2 separate regions of the Homo sapiens genome follow, and region 1 is linked to region 2. The links are contacts of gene promoters, found by promoter capture Hi-C in human tissues and cell types (Jung and others, 2019). All regions are on one chromosome and are shown on one strand. The core of a region is centred on a gene start or on the middle of the fragment in contact, and the rest is flanking DNA. Distances in the headings are between cores, read along the strand shown. Region 1 overlaps ACOT12 (acyl-CoA thioesterase 12). Region 2 holds the start of ACOT12 (acyl-CoA thioesterase 12).

The links. The method cuts DNA at HindIII sites, captures the fragments that hold promoters and counts their contacts. A contact is called where the count stands out against the background at its distance.
Region 1: a fragment that was not itself captured here is called in contact with the fragment with the promoter of ACOT12 in region 2 in 1 of the 25 tissues and cell types used here (liver).

Annotation. Positions count from the first base shown.
Region 1 is chr5:81,348,140-81,354,059 of GRCh38, reverse strand. The region is part of intron 5 of ACOT12 (acyl-CoA thioesterase 12); the gene reads left to right. Among named protein-coding and RNA genes, the nearest start is that of ACOT12, 43 kb to the left of the region's middle. The HindIII fragment of the contact is 6,823 bases long and covers 1-4,988 here.
Region 2 is chr5:81,390,302-81,396,536 of GRCh38, reverse strand. It overlaps ACOT12 (acyl-CoA thioesterase 12), which reads left to right and starts at 2,403. Exons shown (of 15, transcript NM_130767.3): 1 at 2,403-2,549. The coding sequence starts at 2,423. The HindIII fragment of the contact is 9,735 bases long and covers 1-6,235 here.

The sequences.
Region 1 (5,920 bases), core at 328-2,827, 42 kb after region 2:
CCAGAGAACTTAAAAGCAATTCATCTTAAAGAATGCAAGAGCCAGACTCTGACATTTAAAGCCGCTGTGTAGTATGTGATTTCTCCACCTGCTGCTCCTTAGATCAGATGGAGTTGGTTTTTGATAGGACATTGTGTGTTCTAAAAGAAGAGAACCAACCCATCTCTGTTCTTGTACCATGTTTTTAGAAAACCAGGGGTTTGTGTTGGTTATAAATATCAAACATAAAAGATTGGAATATTTTTCAAGATGTTGTATGATGGAAATGCATATTATTAGAACAGTGAGAACATTGAATCCAGATCATATCCTTTCGGAAGAAAAGAAAAGAGATGAGATTAGTTTTGTAAAAGCAGGATATTTCTGGAATGTGTATAAGCACGCACATCTCAGAAATACTACTGGATCATTATTTGCAAGCTTGACATATAGGGGAAAAACTTAAAATTTGAAAGCATTTTAATTTAATTTTTGAGTAAGAAAATCAGATCTTAAGAGCATTATCATGGTTAATTTTCTGGATATGCAGAAAGAAAACTAGGGCTAGCATGACCTCAATTCAGGTCAAAGTTCCTGATCTACAAATGTAGAGTGAATGTAAAGTTGTCAAAGCAGGTTGATGACACAGTACTTTAAGAACATCCAAAGTACACGTATTGAACTTGATCACTCAAAGCCAGCAGAAAGGGTGAGTTCTGTTTACTTAACCCAAACCAGAACTGCGAGCCTGAATTGCTCTCTGAACCTGGGAAAACCCTATTTTTTTCGTTGGTTGTAAATTAACTCCAAATAAGCAAACTTCTGCACCAAAGTCATCTAACTCAATATATTTCTGCATACGTATCATAGCTGATGCTGGTGCACGTATAATCTCACCTAGCACCTCCCTCTACAGGTTCCAGTATATACTGTATATGTCTTCATAGGAAGTATGTGGTTTCTCTTTAAAGTTATCCCTCAGAAAAGAAGGAGCTGCTTTATATTTGAGTCTTTACAATGTCTCTCATAAGGCCTTCTCTTAATTTTTTATTTATAATTATCTAAAAACTATTTTTAAAGAGATAGTACATGCACAGGGTAAAAAATGCAAAACGCATAAAAAGGCATATAGTTAAAAAGTAAGTCTGCCTACCGTCTCACTTCCCACCTTCAGAGACCGTCACTATCACACACACTTCAATTTCTGTGGGTACACAGTAGGTGTATATATTTATGGGATACATGAAATACTGTGATACAAGCATACAAATGTGCAATAATCACATCATGTAAAATGGGGTATCCACTCCTTCAAGTGTGACAAACAATCCAATGATACTCGTTATTTTTAAATATATAATTAAATTATTATTGACTGTAGTCACCCTGTTGTGCTGTCAAACACTAGGTCTTATTCATTCTTTCTAACTATATTTTTGTACCCATTAACCATCCCCACCCTCCCACTACCCTTCCCAGCCTCTCATAAGCATGCTTCTGCTATCTCCATGAGTTCAATTGTTTTGATTTTTAGCTCCCACAAATAAGTGAAAACATGCAATGTTTGTCGTTTGTCTTTCTGTGCCTTATTTCACTTATAATGATCTCCAGTTCCATCCATGTTGTTGCGGATGACAGGATCTCATTCTTTTTTATGGCTGAATAGTATTCTGTTGTGTATATGTATCATATTTTCTTTATTCATTCATCTGTTGATAGACACTTAGGTTGCTTCCAAATTTTAGCTATTGTGAACAGGGCTGCAACAAACATGGGAATGCATATATCTCTTCAGTATCCTGATTTCCTTTCTTTTGGGTGTATACCCAGCAATGGGATTGCTGGATCTGATGATAGTTCTGTTTTTAGTCTTTTGAGGAACCTCCAAACTGTTCTTCATAGGGGTTGTACTAATTTACATTCCCACCAACAGTGTATGAAGGTTCCCTTTTCTCCACATCCTTACCAGCACTGGTTATTGCCTGTCTTTGGGATAAAAGGCATTTTAACTGAGGTGAGATGATACCTCATTGTAGTTTTGATTTGCATTTCTCTGATGATCAGTGATGTCGATACCTTTTTATATGCCTGTTTGCCATTTGCATGTCTTCTTTTGAGAAATGTCTATTCAAATCTTTGGCCCATTTTTTAATCAGATTATTAGATTTTTTTCCTATAGTGCTGTTTAAGCTCCTTATATATTCTGGTTATTAATCGCTTATCAGATGGATAGCTTTCAAATATTTTCTCCCATTCTGTGGGTTGTCTCTTCACTTTGTTGATTGTTTTCTTTGCTGTGCAGATGCTTTTTAACTTGATGTGATTCCGTTTGTTGATTTTTGCTTTGGTTACCTGTGCTTGTGGGGTACTGCTCAATAAATTTTTGTCCAGACCAATGTCCTGGAGAGTTTCCCTGATGTTTTCCTATAATGGTTTTATAGTTTGAGGTCTTAGATTTAAGCCTTTCATCCATTTTGATTTGATTTTTGTGTATGGTAAGAGATAGTGGTCTAGTTTCATTCTTCTGCATATGAGTATCCAGTTTTCCCAGCACCATTTATTGAAGAGATTGTCCTTTCCCCAATGTATGTTCTTGGCACCTTTGTCAAATATGAGTTCACTGTGGGTGTGTGAATCTGTTTCTGGGTTCCCAGTTCTGTTCCATTGGTCTATGTGTCTGTTTTTATGCCAGTGCCTGGCTGTTTTGCTTACTACAACTCTGTAGCATAATTTGAAGTCAGATAATTGTATTAATTTATTTTAAACAAAAAATGTGCCATTTGAGTAAGTAACATTAGCCTGAAAACAACCTCAATAAATACTAGTTTGGGATATGTATAAAACATCTTCAAATAAAATCAATTTTAGAAAGAGAGAGAAATTGAAAGGGATTAAGATTGTGTATTTCTTTCAAAGATCACTTTAGAAAGTGATTCCATTTTGATTCTAGCAATATAGTGGATTCATTGTTGGGTAAAACCAAAAATTTCTGGAAAAATATTTACAAACATCTTTGCAAACACATCTCAGCAGGCAGAAAAATAAGAGAAAACTTTGAAGTCCAGAAATGGTGAGAAAACACAAATGCCGCAGTGCAAGGAAGCATGGGGGCTGGCATTTGTCCTGGAGGACCCAGCAGGTGGGCCTGCTTGGGCTCAGGAGACAAAACCAGGCGTCCATGTGAGGGAGAAGGTTGGATCAGGGAACCTTCCTTGGTGCTGGAACCTCCAAAAGGTGATTCCCTCAGTGAGTCAACCAGAAAAATTCCACCCTCCAGAGAGCCTTAGCCTTAGGTGGAATGGGAAAAAAAATTCTCTCCCTTTCAGAATTCAATCACAAGTGCATCCTCATGAAGATTTGGATCCTCAGAAGTCACATGACCTGTCTGGGCTAAAACAGAACAAGTAAACTTTAGTGTAAAGTGGTGCTGTGTTGTAGGACCCCAGGGGATCTGCAGCTGCAAATGCAGCTCCTTTGTGAAGAAATGACTTTAAAGCCAGCTCCCAAGAATTTCCACAGAAAAAGATCCAAGCAATATGAGATCCTAGTGAAAAATCATAAAAGATAGAAATAAAGCAAGGCTTCAAGATCTGGAAGTGACACCAGGCCCCACAAAGTCTGAACGAGGCCCACAAAGACAGCAGATAATGAATTTATCAAGTAAGATGAAGAGGCTTAATATGTTTTAAGAAATAAAAGAGTATCAAGAGTATAATGCAAGAACAACAACAACAAAAAAGATAACCTAGAAGGTTTAACAAAGAAACAAAGACGATTTCTATAAAAAAGAATATATAATAATTAAAATTTGAAACTCAGTGAATGAATGAAACAGCAGATAAGACAAGGAACTGGAAGATAGATCTGAAAGAGTTAACTAGAATGCAGCCAGATAGACAAAGAGATGGGGAACATGTAAGGGAGGTTAGGAAACATGAAGAATGGAGAGAAATGTCTAACATGCAAAAAAATTCTCCGGAAATGAGACAAGCAATATTTGAAGCAAATGATATAAAGAGACATTTCATGAAGAGGTGACAAGAATACTTAATATACATGTAAAAAGATGTTGGAACTCATTAGTAATCAGGAAAATGCAAATTATAACCAACGTGAGATACTCTTCCACACCCACCAAACTGGAAATAGTTGAGTGTCTGATACTTCTAAGCAAAAATGGGGACCAGTGGGGACTCTCATCAACAGCAGACAGAAGTGTCAGTACAACTATTTTATTACCTAAAAATATTCTGTTGAGAGTAAGGACTATGAATGTTAAGGAAATCAGCTAAGTTAAGTTTATTCATTCATTTCATTTAATAAATATTTATTGAGCACCTATGTTCAGGAATTATATGAGAATTTTAAAAATCCATAGTCCCTGCACCAAAAAGCTTAGGATCTAGTGGGTCACATAATAAAAGGGCACACAAATAACATAAAACTATAGCCATGAAAGAAAGATCCTTCAAGAGACCCTGAAGGTGGGGCTGAGCTGTGGAGGTCAGAGAAGGCTCCACTGAGGAAGTAATGACCAAGGGGGGGCCACAGAGTATGAGTGAAATTGAAGACACAGGTGATGGTGGCCAGGGGGATTGCCGTAGACAGCAGGGATGTGACAAATGCCCTGTTGTTGAAGGTAATACTTCCTCAGAGGAAGTGAAAAAAGACCAGCGTGGCTGGAGCAAAGGGAGAGGGAGAGTGAGGCCAGACCAGGAATGCAGGGCTTGCAGGCCATGGGAAGGATTTGGGGTTTTATACGAGAACAATGGGTAGCTACTGACTTGTTTTAAGCTGGGGACTGAAACGATCACTGGAAATAAGAAAAAATAAAAGAGATCATCAATTAATTATAAATCTAAAAATTACATTAGGAAGTGGAATTAAGGGTTTCTGTGACTACCCTTCTGGATCACCAGATGTGACTATGCCGAGAGCAGCAACAGTTGCTGGGCATATCTTCCCTCTCACACTGCAAGCTCAGCTCTGCCTCTGACAGTACAGCCACGATGGTGTCCCAGTTTGTAAATCCTTTCCCCCTCCTTCCCAACAATAGCATGTGAGATGGAAACCTAGCCGGTGGTTCACTTCGTGATGCAAAAAGCATAATTGAATACATTTTACTGCTTTGCAGCCAGAGTAAATGATTTTTCCATTGTTAAGAGTAAAAACCAATTTGTTAGTAAACGGAGCAGATATGATTCAAAAGAAGCAGAAAGCTAGGCGCGGTGGCTCACGCCTGTATTCCCAGCACTTTGGGAGGCCGAGGCGGGCAGATCACCTGAGGTCAGGAGTTCAAGACCAGCCTGGCCAACATGGTGAAAACCATCTCTACTGAAAATACAAAAATTAGCCAGGCGTGGTGGCACGCACCTGTAAGCCCAGCTACTCGGGAGGCCGAGGCAGGAGAATTGCTTGAACCTGGGAGGCTGAGGTTGCAGTGAGCTGAGATCGCACCACTGCACTCCAGCCTGGATGACAGAGTGAGACTGTCTAAAAAAAAAGAGAGAGCAGAAGGACATGAAGAAGTATAACAGATTGTGTCTTTCCTGCTTGTGACTGCAATCATTACAAACAGTTTCCGCAGGAGGCCACATTTCCATTCTGAAGGTAGTGTTTCAAGCTTCCTGGTGTCTCTGGTCCTTTGTAGCTCAGATTCCTTTATCTTTAACAACTTTATTGTGGTGTAATTGACAAACAATGAATGGCCCATATTTAAAGCATATAATTTGATAAGTTTTGAAGTAAGTTTACACCTGTGAAAACATCACCACAATCAAGATAATGACATATCCATCACCCCCAACATTTCTGCCCCTTCCTGTCCTGATCTGTCCCTACCCCACCACAAACAACTCAAGTTTCAGTGTAACCATTCTTTTAGTCAAAATTCCAATAGACTTATTTTATAGGCTAGAATACAATCTCTAAAAGGCCCTTT
Region 2 (6,235 bases), core at 1,154-3,653:
AAGGAAATCACTTCATTTCCTCATCTCTAGAATAAGAGTTTAGACTGTCCAGTTCCCCTTCCCACTCCAGCATTTTAAAGATTTTCTCGTTATTCTAGTGATTGTGGAACTTCCCACACTTTTTTGGATCAGCTTTCCTGCTCCTGTGTACAAACTTTTAAAATCAAGCTGGCTTCACATTCTGCTTATCTTCAAAAATGTCTCTAAACACAAATGAAACTCGACCTTTTATTCAAGCATAATAGTAAAAATCTTTGACACCAGAGAGAAATGGAGGTAACAAATGTTCATGCATGCAGATGACATTTTCATTGTAAAAGGAAGAAAGGGACCATTCAGAAAAACACAAGAATAGTAAAATGAAAATTAGTATGAAACCAACAAAAGATATGAAACCATAATCTGAAGACATCTAAACAGGAGATAATAAAGATAAGAAAACACAGCAGTGAATTTGTGTACCATGTCTGCTTTTAAAGCAACATCTCTAGACAAACACACAAATATACACATGCTGTCCCCTTCAAGAAAATCATTTTGGAAACCCATCCTCTTACACTTATGCGTAAACATTTTTGAAATTTCTTCTTCTTTTTCTTTTTTTTTTTTTTTTTTTTTGAGACTCAAGCTCACTGCAACCTCTGCCTTTTTGGCTCAAGTGATCCTCCTGCCTCAGCCTCCTGAGTAGCTGGGACCACAGGGACACACCACCACGCCCAACTAATTCTTGTATTTTTGGTAGAGAGAGGGTTTCACCATGTTGCTCAGGCTGGTCTTGAACTCCTGAGCTCAAGCAATTTACCTAACCTCAGCCTCCCAAAGTGCTGGGATTATAGGCATGAGCCACTGCGCCTGGCCTAAGTTTCTTTAGTTTATAAGAAACCAAGTATACAACCATACACATAATTCAATATCACCACTTTAGTCACCACTTTTTACCCAAAATAATACAACCCAGCCTAAATGCAAACTTTATTTCCAGTAATTTAATAAACTTCCCAAATATTAATACAGTTCACTCATGTAACTGTCAGCTATTGCTGCATAACAGACAACCCCCAAAATCACAGTGGCACACAACAATAAGTAGTTATGTCTCACTCAAGAGTCTTCATGTCTGCTGGGTTGCTCTGCTTCAGGCTGTGAGTCCTCCGGCTGGCTGAGATGCCTCTGCAATACGTGAATTCAGTCTGGTACCCAGATGCTAATAGGCAGCTACTTGACCTCATGGCAGAGGTCAGATGTTCCTGAGAACAGAAACACGGTGCTTCTAAAGGCAAGACTGGTGGTACACTGCTATCTCTCCACATTCCATTCTTAAGCAAGCCACATGGCCAAGTCCAAGGTCAATAAATGACTCTCACAGAGTTATTGGTAGATGGAGTGAATATATGATAATCTATCAATTCCTAAATTATGATTTCTCAATACAGAAGTCATTAAAAAGGCATTTTCCAAGGAGGAGTGCCAAAAGCGATGTAATAACGTTATCATTGAAATAAGTGTATAGCTACATAATGGGACCATCTTGGATGCACAAGTTTTTGTTTGCTTTTAAAAGTTATTTTAATGCCTTTTATATAAGTCAGACTTCATGCTTGCCTCAGTGAAAACATGCAATTCCTATTTATGATTGGATTGTCCTGAAACCTATACACAGAGGCTCCTAAAAGCTATCAAGTCAACATTTCCTTATTTCTTCACTTTCATTTTAAAAAAAATCTTTTAAAAAGGAAAGAAAAATACCAGAATCTCCATTCTGATGTCGCCATGCTGAGGCTTGGCAAGCCAAAAATATAAGGATGAAAAGGCACCACCAATTCGTGAGAGTCGGCTAGGCTTCTTCGTGCTATTCCGGACAGTCAGGAGCCCTGGGTTCCAGCCAGGTGATCGGGTCGCTTATCGGCTCCTATCACCTCAGCTGCTTGCTCCACTTCTCCGGGTTTCCAGTTCTCCATCGTAAATGTGCTCCCTGGAGCAGCCTCCCCTGACAGTCAGACATCCACCAATCCATTAGATGCTGGAGGTTTTCTGGAGACACTGTTTCCCTAATGAGGACTGCTTTGTACAGTCACTGATAGCAGCTCTAGAAAGTGTAACAGCTTTTTTATCTCAAAAGCTGTTCCTCGCGCTCCGGCTCTCGGGGAGCCGCCTTCCAGACCTGTCTACCCGGGAGCCCCCTCCCCGCGCACTTCCCAGACTTCTCCTGAGACCCGAGAGCGCTGGTTTTCCCCCACTCGCGATAGTCCTGGGATGACAGTGCGGGCCCCCTCACTCGCAGCTCCCACCACCTGGCGGCCAGGGGTTCGCGGCCCGGGCGGGCGGCGCCAGTGCCCTCTGGAGCTGGGCGGGGAGGGCGGGGCGGGCGGAGCGGGCATGGTGGGGTGTCGGGGGCCGCAGGCGTAGCGCTCTCGCCCTGGCCATGGAGCGGCCGGCGCCCGGCGAGGTGGTCATGAGCCAAGCCATCCAGCCGGCGCACGCCACTGCGCGCGGCGAGCTGAGCGCGGGGCAGCTGCTCAAGTGGATCGACACCACCGCCTGCCTGGCGGGTAGGCGGGCGCCGGGGCTGCGGGGAGGCGCGGGACCGGGGCTGCGGGAGCGGCGGCGGCTGGGGGCTGGGGGGGGTAGGAAGGCGAGGAAGGTACTTGCGGAGAGCTGAACCCTGCGCAGCCAGGGATAGGGGTGTTGCAACAGTGCGCCCGCGCTGGGCATGGCCGAGACCGGTGGTTCCCAAATGTGTGGCTCTCGGGACTCCTTCATTCCATTAAACAAGTGAGGAGCCCAGAGAGCTTCTGCGGGGTTTTTTGTTTGTTTGTTTGTTGTTGTTGTTGTTGAGCTCTCTCCCGGGCTGGAGAGCGGTGGCGCCATCAGAGGTCGCTGCAGCCTCGACCTCCTGAGCTAAAGCGATCCTCCCACCTCAGCCTCCAGAGTAACTAGGACCACAGACGCACGCCACCAGGCCCAGCTGACTTTGGGAGTTTTGTTTTGTTTTGCTTTTGTAGAGATGGGGTCTCACTATGTTGCCCAGGCTGGTCTCAAACGCCTGGACTCAAGTGATCCTGAAGTGTTGGGAGGCCCCAGCCTCCCAAAGTGTTGGGATTACAGGCATGAGCCACCGCACCCAGGCAGCTTTTGTTTATGTAGGCTATTTATATCACATTTACCGTAATGGAAATTTAAAATTTTTAATTATTTTTAAAAAAGAAATGGACTACATTGTTAGCATAACATTTTTAATTAAGAAATAACTATTTTCCACAAGAACAAAAGTGTAGCGAGAGGAGTGGTGATAAAGGTTACATCCTGGCGAGTCTCTCTAAGGTCTGGCTAGTGGAGGATTGCTGACTACTCATACCTGCTTCTGCATTCACCCTGCTGCTACCACACCCTTATGTAGTCTCTGGAAAACTCCACTGTGTTCTTGTGACAGAATGACAGTAAAAATGGCAAAAACATTTATTAAGGACTGAATTATATCCCCCACACCACCCACCGAAATTTATACACTGAAGTCCTAACCCCTGGTGTGACTCTATTTGGAGTGAAGAATTAAGGCTAATGAGGTCATAAGAGTGGAATCCTGGTCCCATACAATTAATGTCCTTATAAGAAGAGACACTGGAGAGCTTCTCTCTGCCATGTGAGGCCACAGCAGGAAGACAGCCATCCACAGGCCAGGAAGAGAGCCCTCACTAGGACCTACAATGGGCAAGCACCTCGATTTGGAACTTCCCTGCCTCCACAATTGTGAGAAATCAATGATTCGTTTAAGCCTTTTTTTTTTTTAACAGGATTTGAGATTGGTTATATTAACAATGGAAACATGAATACAAAATTAATCCACACATAGGAAAAAAGAATAATACATAAACCACTGAGGTTGCTAATAATAATGATGCCTGTTTCCAAGGCAACTGAATACATTATGAGACCACTGAAGTGACTTTTAGTTACCTTGCTTAGTGCCTCTGTCTTGTGATGGAGAAACAATGGCCCACCTGCAATTGTCATCATTTCTATGACCTGACATCTTTGGAAACCATGGAAAGATCCAATTGACAATCAATTACTCTATACCTTAATAGTTACATTACTATTAGTAGTATAATATTAATAACTGATAATGTTACTAATATTAAGAAAACCTGTATGATAAAGTTGGTTTGGGCAACATGAATAACGCCTGTGTTAAACACTTTATGGTGACCTGAGGCACCACATAAGCAGGGGACATTATTTAGCCAAGGTGTAACTGAATCTGTGTAGTAATATAAAACTGATTTCTCTGGGATTTTCTCAGAGTTTTTTATAGGCCAGCATTATCTCTTTAGCCACATTACTGCAATCCCAGTCATGGCCCCCAAGGCATTTCTATGACCCCTAGGCACTGCTGGATTCCAAAATGTCTTCTCAATATTTAAAGAAAGATGAAATATTCTCACTATCCTTACTTCTGTCAGTGGCCCCATTATTTTTCCAGTCCCTTAAGTCTAAAGTCTTGAAGCTATCTGAGTAATCCTCTATCTCACACGTCCATGTATTATTTTGGAACATCTCACACACACGGTTTTTTATTTGTGAATCTTTTCCAGGGTTTACTATCTCTGGAGTGGCACCCAACTCATCTAGTTGAGCAAGTCAAAAGTCTAGGAGTCATCCTTGATATTTCTCTCTCCACCTTACTTCTCACTTCACATACTCTATGCATGGAGCAAGTCCTATCAGTGTTACCCCCTAAAGGAGTCTCTGAAATCCAAGCACTTTGCTGCACCCCCATTGCGACCATCTACTCCAAGCTATCATCATGTTTCATGCAGACTTCAGCAGTGATTTCCAAACTCATCTCCATTCGTTCTGGTCTCCTCTCCACACTGCTTCTAAAGTAATCTTTGAAGATGCTAATCTGATTGATCATGTCATATGTTTTGTTCATTTTTCCCTTTCTTTTCTTCACCAAGGGCTTTAAGGATTTTTCTAAGATGTTCAAGTGCTTCCTACTAAAAAATCTCCCACAGATAATAATTATAAACTCTGGGCAAAACACTAAATAAAAGAGACTTAAGGCAGGTGAAAAGTGAACAAAAGTAGGCTTATAACACTTGAAAGTTAACACATGAAAGAACAAAGTGGTGTTGGCTTTTTCTGTGTTTGTTTTATAAATGACTTGAAGCCTGAAAGAAAATGCCAGTCTGCTCCCAGCTATAGTTCTGATGGAAAACCCACAGGCTTGCTGGTTTGAAGAGCCCAAAGACAGGGTTTGGGAAAAGCACAGCTACTGAATGAAATACAAAAGGGAAAGTTCCAGAAAGGAAAGAGCCAGAGAGACAGAGCCCTAAAATCTATCTATAATCTTTTCCCAGATATCTGGCAAATCTTGAATCATGTATACATAGGACAGACTCCAAACCTCCTGGTTGAGGCCAAAAGAACTGAAAATAGTTGTGCCCATCTCTAGGTAGACAGATTATAGTTTTGGTTTGGTCAGGTTAACTGCTTGCTTTAAAAAACAAAACCAAAAACAAAACCAACACTTTTCAGAGAAACACAGTTTCTACAATGGATCACTCACAATGGCTAGGATATTATCCAAAATTACTTGAAATACAGAGGGAAACATGATTTATTCTTAAGAGAAAAGATGATCAATGGAGATTCATCCCTAGACAACCCTGATGCTGGAATTAAGCTTCAAGGATTTTAAAGCAGCTAGTATAACTGTGCTCAATAATATAATTAAAAATATGATAATAAAGATTGCTGTAATCCCAGCACTTTGGGAGGCTGAGGCAGGTGGATCACTTGAGGTCAGGAGTTCAAGACCAGCCTGGTCAACATGATGAAACCCTGTCTACTAAAAATACAAAAATTAGCCGGGTGTTGTGGCAGGTGCTTTTAATCCCAGCTACACAGGAGGCTGAGGCAGGAGAATCACTTGAATCTGGGAGGTGGAGATTGCAGTGAGCCGAGATTGTACCACTGCACTCCAGCCAGTGCTGGAGTCTCATTTGAGAATGAGACTCCATCTCAAAAGAAAAAGAAAAAGAAGAAAAAGATTGAAAAGACAGTACATTTCTGCAGAGTAATAGAAACTATTTTTTAAAAGCCAAATGGTAATTCCAGAACTGAAAAATACAGTGTCTAAAATAACAAACTCAATGGCTAGGCTTAACAGCAGAATGGACATGGCTGAGAAAAGAGTTAGTAAATGCAAAAATACATCAATATAAATTATCCA